Regions from separate parts of the Homo sapiens genome. Here region 2 is linked to region 1. Evidence: promoter capture Hi-C in human tissues and cell types (Jung and others, 2019). All regions are on one chromosome and are shown on one strand. Each heading gives the region's core, a stretch centred on a gene start or on the middle of the fragment in contact. The rest is flanking DNA. Distances are from core to core; before and after follow the strand shown. Region 1 holds the start of ZNF140 (zinc finger protein 140). Region 2 overlaps GOLGA3 (golgin A3).

Region 1 (3,971 bases), core at 194-2,693:
GATGGCAGTTATAATTTACAGTTTTGAAGTTTAATAAAAAAGTGATTAAAGACTGTTGACTAATAAAGCAGCTGTTTCCTACACAGCAAGATCTGCAGCAGAGGTGGAAATTGGATTCCCCAGCAAAACTCAGAGAACCTCTGAATTTGGAGAGAAGTATGACAAAAAGTAGGATAAAGAAGTGGAACTGAAATGAGGGACTCATTTTGAATAGTTGACCCTGTTATCCCCACTGCTGTGAAGCACAATTACCAGCCAAGCCCTTAGGCCAAATCAAAATAAAAATGTGTTCCTTATGTCATGTCTGAAAAATGAGCTCTGAGGATTCGGAGATTTTGTTTTGGTCACTTCTGCATCCTCAAGACTTAGAATGAGTTGCACATTAGAATCACTTGGAAGGACTGTTAGACTGCTGGGCCAAATTCTCAGTTTCTGATTCAGAAGGTCTGGGGTAGGACTCAAGAATATTCATTTCTAATACGTTCTCAGATGATGCTGATACTGCTGGTCCAAGGATCACACTGTGGGAACCACTGAAAGTAGAGGTTCAGTAAAAACATATTGAATAAATGAATAAAGGGGCGCTGGAGTAACGTAAAGCACTCCTCATTCTAACACTGTGGGAAAGAGGAGGCGATGTAACAGCTGGCACCCTACCCTCTCACCCTAAAACATGCCAGCCAGGTCAGAAACCCCGCCCACATCTGGATAGCTTCCTGTCACTCTCTTCATGTATACTTAAGTATAAGCACCTGAAAAGGAGGAACAAGGGACAGGGTCCTGGGGTTCTGCCAGGCAGGTGGTTGTAGGAGAAAGAAAGCCACGTCCCAAGTCCTGAAAAACACGGCTGCACTTCACAAAGAAAAGCGGAAACAGGCCAAGTGGGTTGGCTCACTTGAGGCCAAGAGTTTGAGGTTACAGGATGCTATGATCGCTCCACTGCCTGGGCGACAGGAGGAGACCCTGTCTCTCTCTTAAAAAAAAAATAAAAATTTATATATATATATATATATATATTTATCAATCATTAGCTTACCTGAGACATAGCTCACAGAAGGGAAGGAGGAGATCAGAAAAGTGTAAAATGGCAGACCTGGCAGAGAGAGAAAGGAGCCCTGAGCGAACAGGCCAGCTAGGCCGCGCCCAAGTCACTAGATTCCCGCACTGGGGATTCCCGTGGCCCCCGCTCCGCGCCTCCCACGTAGAGAGCAGGGCGCCCTGAGAGATCGCGCTTGGACCACTGGCGCCGGCTTTCTCTTCCTGCCACGGCGCGCCTCCCCAGAACCCCCTCACCTAACAGTGGCCACAGAAGGATGCGTTTCCGTGGTGCTTTCCGCCAGGTGGGCGTAGCGTTCCAGGGCTCCGGACCGAGTCACCGCCCGGGGCCATCCGGCGCAGACCGGGAGGGCTCCTTTCGTTGCCTACAGCCAACACAGGCCAGACGCTCGGCGCCGCCCCCCAGGGCCCCTCCGCGGGCGTCGCAGGAATTGCGTCTTCAGAAGCCTCGCCGACGTCACCCCAACCAGGCCGCCGGCCTCAAGAAACTACAATTCCCAGAAACCAATGCGGCCCTGCGCGCAAGGGCTTTTCGTTCCTACTGGAACTCCCAGAGCGCCTCGCTGCCGTGCCCAGAACGCCAGGAGACAAAGAACGAGGGCCTGCGACAACTACAATTCCCAGAGCCATCGCGGCCCGGTGCGCCAGAGCATAGGGGCTATCCTCCCACGCCCAGAGCCGAGAAACAAAGAACCCGGGTCCTAGGCAACTACATTTCCCAGAAATAACCGCGGCCCCCCGCGGAAGAGTACACAGACCTTTGTGTTCCTATAACTGCCAGAGTGTCTCGCGGCCAAGCGCACAACTAGCGGAGAAACGAAGAACGTGGAACTCAGGCCACCACACTTCCCAGAAACAACCGCGACCCCGCGCGAGAGAGCATATGGCTTTCCCCGCCCCACTGCAACTCCCAGGGTGCTTTGAGGCCAAGCGCACATCATCGAAAGACAAAGAACACGAGCTTCAGGCAACTACACTTCCCAGAACCTCTAGCGACCGTGCGCAAAAGAGCGGAGGACGTTCTTCCCCTACTACGACTCCCAGAGTGCATCGTGGCCACGCCCAAAGCCGGAAGACAACGCAGAGCTCTGGCGACTACATTCCCCCAAACTCCTGCGCCGCACGCCAGAGGGTATAGGGTTTTCCTCCCCTACTACGACTCCCACAGTGCTTCGCTGGCGTGCACACACGGCCCAGAGACAAGGAACTGGAGACTCAGGTGACTACACTTCCCAGAACACACCGCGGCCCAGCAAGAGCCCAAGACCGCCTCTATTAAACAACTAGGATTCTTAACAACGACTGTGGAGTCAGTACTTCAGTCTAAGACCTTTTGCTACTGGAAAGGGGTCCGGATCTCAGACTCTAAGAGAGGGTTCTTGGATCTTGCACAAGAAAGAATTTGAGGCGAATCCATAAGGTGAAAGCAAGTTTATTAGGAAAGTAAAGGAATAAAGAATGGCTAATCCATAGGCAGGGCAGCCCCGAGGGCTGCTGGTTGCGCATTTTTGTGGTTATTTCTTGATGATATGCTAAACAAGGGGTGGATTATTCATGCATCCTCTTTTTAGACCATATAGGGTAACTTCCTGACGTTGCCATAGCCACTGGTGGGCAGTGAGGACAATCAGGTCGTTCTCATCGCTATCTCGGTTTTAGTCGGCTTCTTTACTGCAACCTGTTTTATCAGCAAGGTCTTTATGACCTGTATCTTGTGCCAGCCTCATGTCTCATCCTGTGACTACGAATGCCTTAACCTCCAGGGAATGCTGCCCAGCAGGTCTCAGCCTTATTTTAACCAGCCCCTACTCAAGATAGAGTTGCCCTGGTTCAACCGCCTCTGACAGTGGAAGACGTAGCAATGAGGACAGCCAGAAGTCACTCTCATTGCCATCTTGGTTTTGGTGGGTTTTAGCCGGCTTCTTTACTGTAAACTTTTATCAGCAAGGTCTTTATGACCTGTGTCTCATGCTGACCTGCTGTCTCATACTGTGAGTTAGAATGCCTAACGGTCTTGGAACGCAGCCCAGTATGCCTCAGCCTTATTTTACCCAGTTCTTATTTAAGATGGAGTTGCCGGGTGCTGTGGCTCATGCCTGTAATCCCAGCACTTTGGGAGGCTAAGGCGGGCAGATCACCTGAGGTCAGGAGTTTGCAATCAGCCTGGCCAACAGGCCAGAGTGTAACCTCGTCTCTACTAAAAATACAAAAATTACCTGGGCATGGTGGTGGGTGCCTGTATTCCCAGCTACTTGGGAAGCTGAGGCAGGAGAATCACTTGAACCTGGGAGGTGGAGCTTGCAGTGAGCCAAGTTGGCGCTACTGCACTCCAGCCTGGGCGACAGAGTGAGGCTCCATCTCAAAAAATAAAAATAAAAAAAAAATACAGGCCGGGCGTGGTGGCTCACGCATGTAATCCCAGCACTTTGGGAGACTGTGGCCAGCGAATCACAAGGTCAGAAGTTTGAGACCAGCCTGACAAACATGGTGAAACCCCATCTCTACTAAAAATACAAAAACTAGCTGGGCGTGGTGGTGCACGCCTATAATCCCAGCTACTCCGGAGGCTGAGACAGGAGAATTGCTTGAACCTGGGAGGCGAAGGTTGTAGTGAGCTGAGATCGCGCTATTGCACTCCAGCCTGGGCGAAAGAGCGAGACTGTGTCAAAAAAAAAAAAAGAGCAAAACAACAACAACAAATAAAATAAAAAACAAGATGGAGTTGCTCTGATTCAAGCACCCCTGATGCTTTGGCTTCGTATAACTGTAATAACCAGAATCCTTGCAACGCTCCCAGGTCACCTTGAAACAGTGGTCTCAGAGGATGTGACTCCGAGTCCCTCGTGGCCTTATGGAGCGGCCCAGTCTCTACTTGGTACCGGCACAGCCATGGCTTCTCCCTCTGGGATTCCCCC
Region 2 (4,328 bases), core at 1,341-3,840, 260 kb after region 1:
ACTTTTATCTGAAATGCAAGGTTCCCCCTCTCCCAGCAGTGGAGCTCACGGGTCCTTTGCATGAAAGGCGTCTCAGTGCGTTGGTCGGGTGCCCGTGGTCTGGCTTCCTGTCTGGCACCCCTGCTTTTATTCTGGTTTTTCTTTCGGGAGGCATGACAGTAAGTATCTGCTGTTAGTTTGAACTCACATTTGCAAGTGAAAGAAACCTTTTCTTTTTTTGAGACGGAGTCTCGCTCTGTTGCCCAGACTGGAGTGCAGTGGCACGACCTCAGCTTACTGCAAGCTCCACTTCGAGGGTTCACGCCATTCTTCTGCCTCAGCCTCCCAAGTAGCTGGGACTATAGGCGCCCGCCACCACGCCCAGCTAAGTCTTTGTATTTTTAGTAGAGACGGGGTTTCGCCGTGTTAGCCAGGATAGTCTCGATCTCCTGACCTCGTGATCCACCTGCCTCAGCTTCCCAAAGTGCTGGGATTACAGGCGTGAGCCACCGCGCCCGGCTAAGAAACTCATTTTTAATTTGCTTGAGCAAAAAGCAAATTTGCTGTCCTGCATGCACGTGGGATCCGAGGAATGCTGACCCCTGTGAGACACGGAGGTGTTGCCGGGCCTCCAGAGCCACCGGAACCAGGACCAGAACCCCCTGAGGACCCTCCCTCCCCCCTCACATGTCTTGGTTCTTTGACTGTGAACTGGCCCACCCACCAGTCAGCAGTTAGGGGGCAGGGAAAAGACTGAAAATCACTTCATTGAAAGAAATCTTTCTTTGTTCCATTTGATGAGGAAATATGTTTTAGTTTGTGTTGTGGGTAATTTGTATATAATCATTTTAGTGGGTGAACTGAGGTAACACGTGGGTATAGAATTGTCACTGGTCCAACCCAGGCCTTTACCCAGCAGGCTGTCATCAAGCAGAAGCGCGGTTCTGGGCTGTCTCTGCTTCACGGGTGGTGTGATGACATCATCCACCTCTTCGCCTTAGGGTCCTCGCCTTGGAGGATAAGCTGAGGCTTTGAAATGACTCCAAAATCAGCCTTTGTAAATGTGAGGCTGTGACTCTGATTAACACTGCTGTTACCAGTGCCTGCTAGAAAGATTGTCAGCTGTGTTTTAAGTGTTTGTGGTTTTCGCTTGTTTTAAACTGGCGACTTTCATAAGATTTCTTATTGGTTTTACTTAAATGGAAAGGAAACATTGGCTGGGTGCGGTGGCTCACGCCTGTAATCCCAGCACTGTGGGAGGCCGAGGCTGGTGAATGGGGAGGAGTTTGAGACCAGACTGGCCAACATGGTGAAACCCCATCTCTACTAAAAAGACCAAAAATTAGCCAGGTGTGGTGGTGGGCACCTGTAATCCCAGCTACTGGGGAGGCTGAAGCAGGAGAATCGCTTGAATCTGGTGAGTGGAGCTTGCAGTGAGCTGAGCTTGTGTGACTGAACTCCAGCCTGGGCAGCAGAATGAGACTCCGTCTCAAAAAAGAGAAGAGGAAATGTTACTGTCGTTACTACATAAATTCTACAGCCAAGAGTGTGGAGGTGTGGAGGGTGAGTTCACCTTATAGTGTAGAGGTGTGGAGGGCGAGTTCACCTTAGAGCATGGAGGAGTGGAGGGTGGGTTCACCTTAGAGCATGGAGGAGTGGAGGGGGGGTTCACCTTAGAGCGTGGAGGTGTGGAGGGCGGGTTCACGTTAGAGCGTACAGGTGTGGAGGGTGGGTTCACCTTAGAGCGTGGAGGAGTGGAGGGTGAGTTCACCTTAGAGTGTGGAGGTGTGGGGGGGGGTTCACCTTAGAGCGTGGAGGAGTGGAGGGTGAGTTCACCTTAGAGTGTGGAGGTGTGGGGGGGGGGTTCACCTTAGAGCGTGGAGGTGTGGAGGGTGAGTTCACCTTAGAGCGTGGAGGAGTGGAGGGCGGGTTCACGTTAGAGTGTGGAGGTGTGGAGTGCGGGTTCACCTTAGAGCGTGGAGGAGTGGAGGGCGGGTTCACCTTAGAGCGTGGAGGTGTGGAGGGTGGGTTCACCTTAGAGCGTGGAGGTGTGGAGGGCGGGTTCACCTTAGAGCGTGGAGGAGTGGAGGGTGAGTTCACCTTAGAGTGTGGAGGTGTGGGGGGGGGGTTCACCTTAGAGCGTGGAGGTGTGGAGGGTGAGTTCACCTTAGAGCGTGGAGGAGTGGAGGGCGGGTTCACGTTAGAGTGTGGAGGTGTGGAGGGTGGGTTCACCTTAGAGCGTGGAGGTGTGGAGTGCGGGTTCACCTTAGAGCGTGGAGGAGTGGAGGGCGGGTTCACCTTAGAGCGTGGAGGTGTGGAGGGCGGGTTCACCTTAGAGCGTGGAGGAGTGGAGGGCGGGTTCACGTTAGAGTGTGGAGGTGTGGAGGGCGGGTTCACCTTAGAGTGTGGAGGTGTGGAGGGCGGGTTCACCTTAGAGCGTGGAGGTGTGGAGGGCGGGTTCACCTTAGAGCGTGGAGGAGTGGAGGGCGGGTTCACGTTAGAGTGTGGAGGTGTGGAGGGGGGGTTCACCTTAGAGCGTGGAGGTGTGGAGGGCGGGTTCACCTTAGAGCGTGGAGGTGTGGAGGGCGGGTTCACCTTAGAGCGTGGAGGAGTGGAGGGCGGGTTCACATTAGAGTGTGGAGGTGTGGAGGGTGAGTTCACGTTAGAGCGTAGAGGTGTGGAGGGCGGGTTCACGTTAGAGTGTGGAGGTGTGGAGGGCAGGTTCACCTTACAGGAAGGACGTGGACACCAGAGGGGCTGTGGGCCTTATCCTGGCCACCCCGCCTGTGGGACGGGGCCCATGGGCTGCTCCTCTCAGAGTGAAGCCTTTGTGGGATGAGAAAGTGCCGTGCTCATGAGTCTGGATCCTCTTCTCTCCTACTCCAGCTGCATGTCTGAAAAGCGACGTCACCTTGTTGTTAAAGCCATGGTGGTCCAGCGTGCTCTGTCTTTCCAGGTGCCGAGGTAAACAGAGCATCCACGGAAGGGGAAAGCCCGGATGGACCTGGCCAGGGAGGCCTCTGTCAGAACGGGCCAACGCCACCCTTCCCAGACCCTCCGTCGTCTCTCGATCCCACCACAAGCCCAGTGGGCCCTGATGCCTCTCCAGGTGTGGCTGGTTTCCATGACAACCTAAGGAAGTCTCAGGGAACTAGTGCTGAGGGCAGTGTTAGAAAAGAAGCTTTGCAGTCTCTCAGACTCAGTCTTCCTATGCAAGAAACGCAACTGTGTAAGCATCCGTTACCCCGCTTTTCCCACCCTCCACGTCCGCGTCGCTCAGCCCCTTGGGAGCAGGTGCCCTGCGCACTCACTGTCTGAGCTGTTGTGTGCCTGTGCCTGCCGTGTGCCATCTGAGTCCCACGTGGGGCTGTGAGTTTAGCAAGGAGAGCTTCAAGTTAGAGAGTGAAGATGCAGGTGGAGTCAAGGTTCTGCTGTGGTCTGACTGGCAGCAGTGCTGACGCTTTTGCGTTAAAGGCCAGCCTGCATGTCCTGTGTCACCCAGGTGCTTGGTAAGCAGACGGTGGGCATCCAGTCTGTTGTTTTGGTTTTTTTTGGTTTGCTTTTTTTTTCTGAGACAGAGTCTCGCTCTTTCGCCCAGGCCGGACTGCAGTGGCGCTGTCTCGGCTCACTGCAATCTCCGCCTCCTGGGTTCATGCCATTCACCTGCCTCGGCCTCCCGAGTAGCTGGGACTACATGCACCCGCCACCAGGCCCGGCTAATTTTTTGTATTTTTAGCAAAGATGGGGTTTCACCGTGTTAGTCAAGATGGTATTGATCTCCTGACCTCATGGTCTGCCTGCCTTGGCCTCCCAAAGTGTTGGGATTACAGGCGTGAGCCACCAGGCCCAGCCTGTTTTGTTTTTTAATTAGAGTCAGGATCTTGCTCTGTCGCCCAGGCTGGAGGCCAGTGGCAGAGTCAGAGCTCACTGCAGCCTCTGCCTCCCAGGTTCAAGGGATCTTCCTGCCTCTGCTGTCAAGTAGCTTGGACCACAGGTGCGTGTCACCACACCTGGCTAATTTTAATTTTTTGTGTGTGTAGAAACGGGGTCTCACCATGTTTCCCAGGCTGGTCTTGAACTCCTGGGCTCAAGTGATCGTCATACCTTGGCCTCCCAAAATACTGGGATTATAGGCGTGAGCCACTGTACCTGGCCTGCAGTATATTTTTAAAAATTTCTTAAAACTAAATAACAACAACAAAAAACCCTAAATTACTGAAATCAGACTGCATTTCACATGTGTTTATTTGAAACAATTCTGAAAACTCACTGCCAGCATTTAAGTTGAGAAGTAGCATGTAAAAAAGTCTAGATTCCTGATTTTTTTCAACTTAGTTTATTTACTTTGG

Evidence for each region. Contacts are between HindIII fragments. The study calls those that stand out against the background at their distance.
Region 2: a fragment that was not itself captured here is called in contact with the fragment with the promoter of ZNF140 in region 1 in 1 of the 25 tissues and cell types used here (lymphoblastoid cells).

Annotation. Positions count from the first base shown.
Region 1 is chr12:133,078,395-133,082,365 of GRCh38, reverse strand. It overlaps ZNF140 (zinc finger protein 140), which reads right to left and starts at 1,443. Exons shown (of 5, transcript NM_003440.4): 1 at 1,294-1,443; 2 at 1,037-1,093. The coding sequence starts at 1,045. RefSeq lists enhancers at 1,455-1,654, 1,725-2,414. The HindIII fragment of the contact is 23,175 bases long and covers 1-3,971 here.
Region 2 is chr12:132,815,420-132,819,747 of GRCh38, reverse strand. GOLGA3 (golgin A3) reads left to right here. Exons shown (of 24, transcript NM_001389683.1): 3 at 2,936-3,208. Among named protein-coding and RNA genes, the nearest start is that of GOLGA3, 11 kb to the left of the region's middle. The HindIII fragment of the contact is 4,457 bases long and covers 362-4,328 here.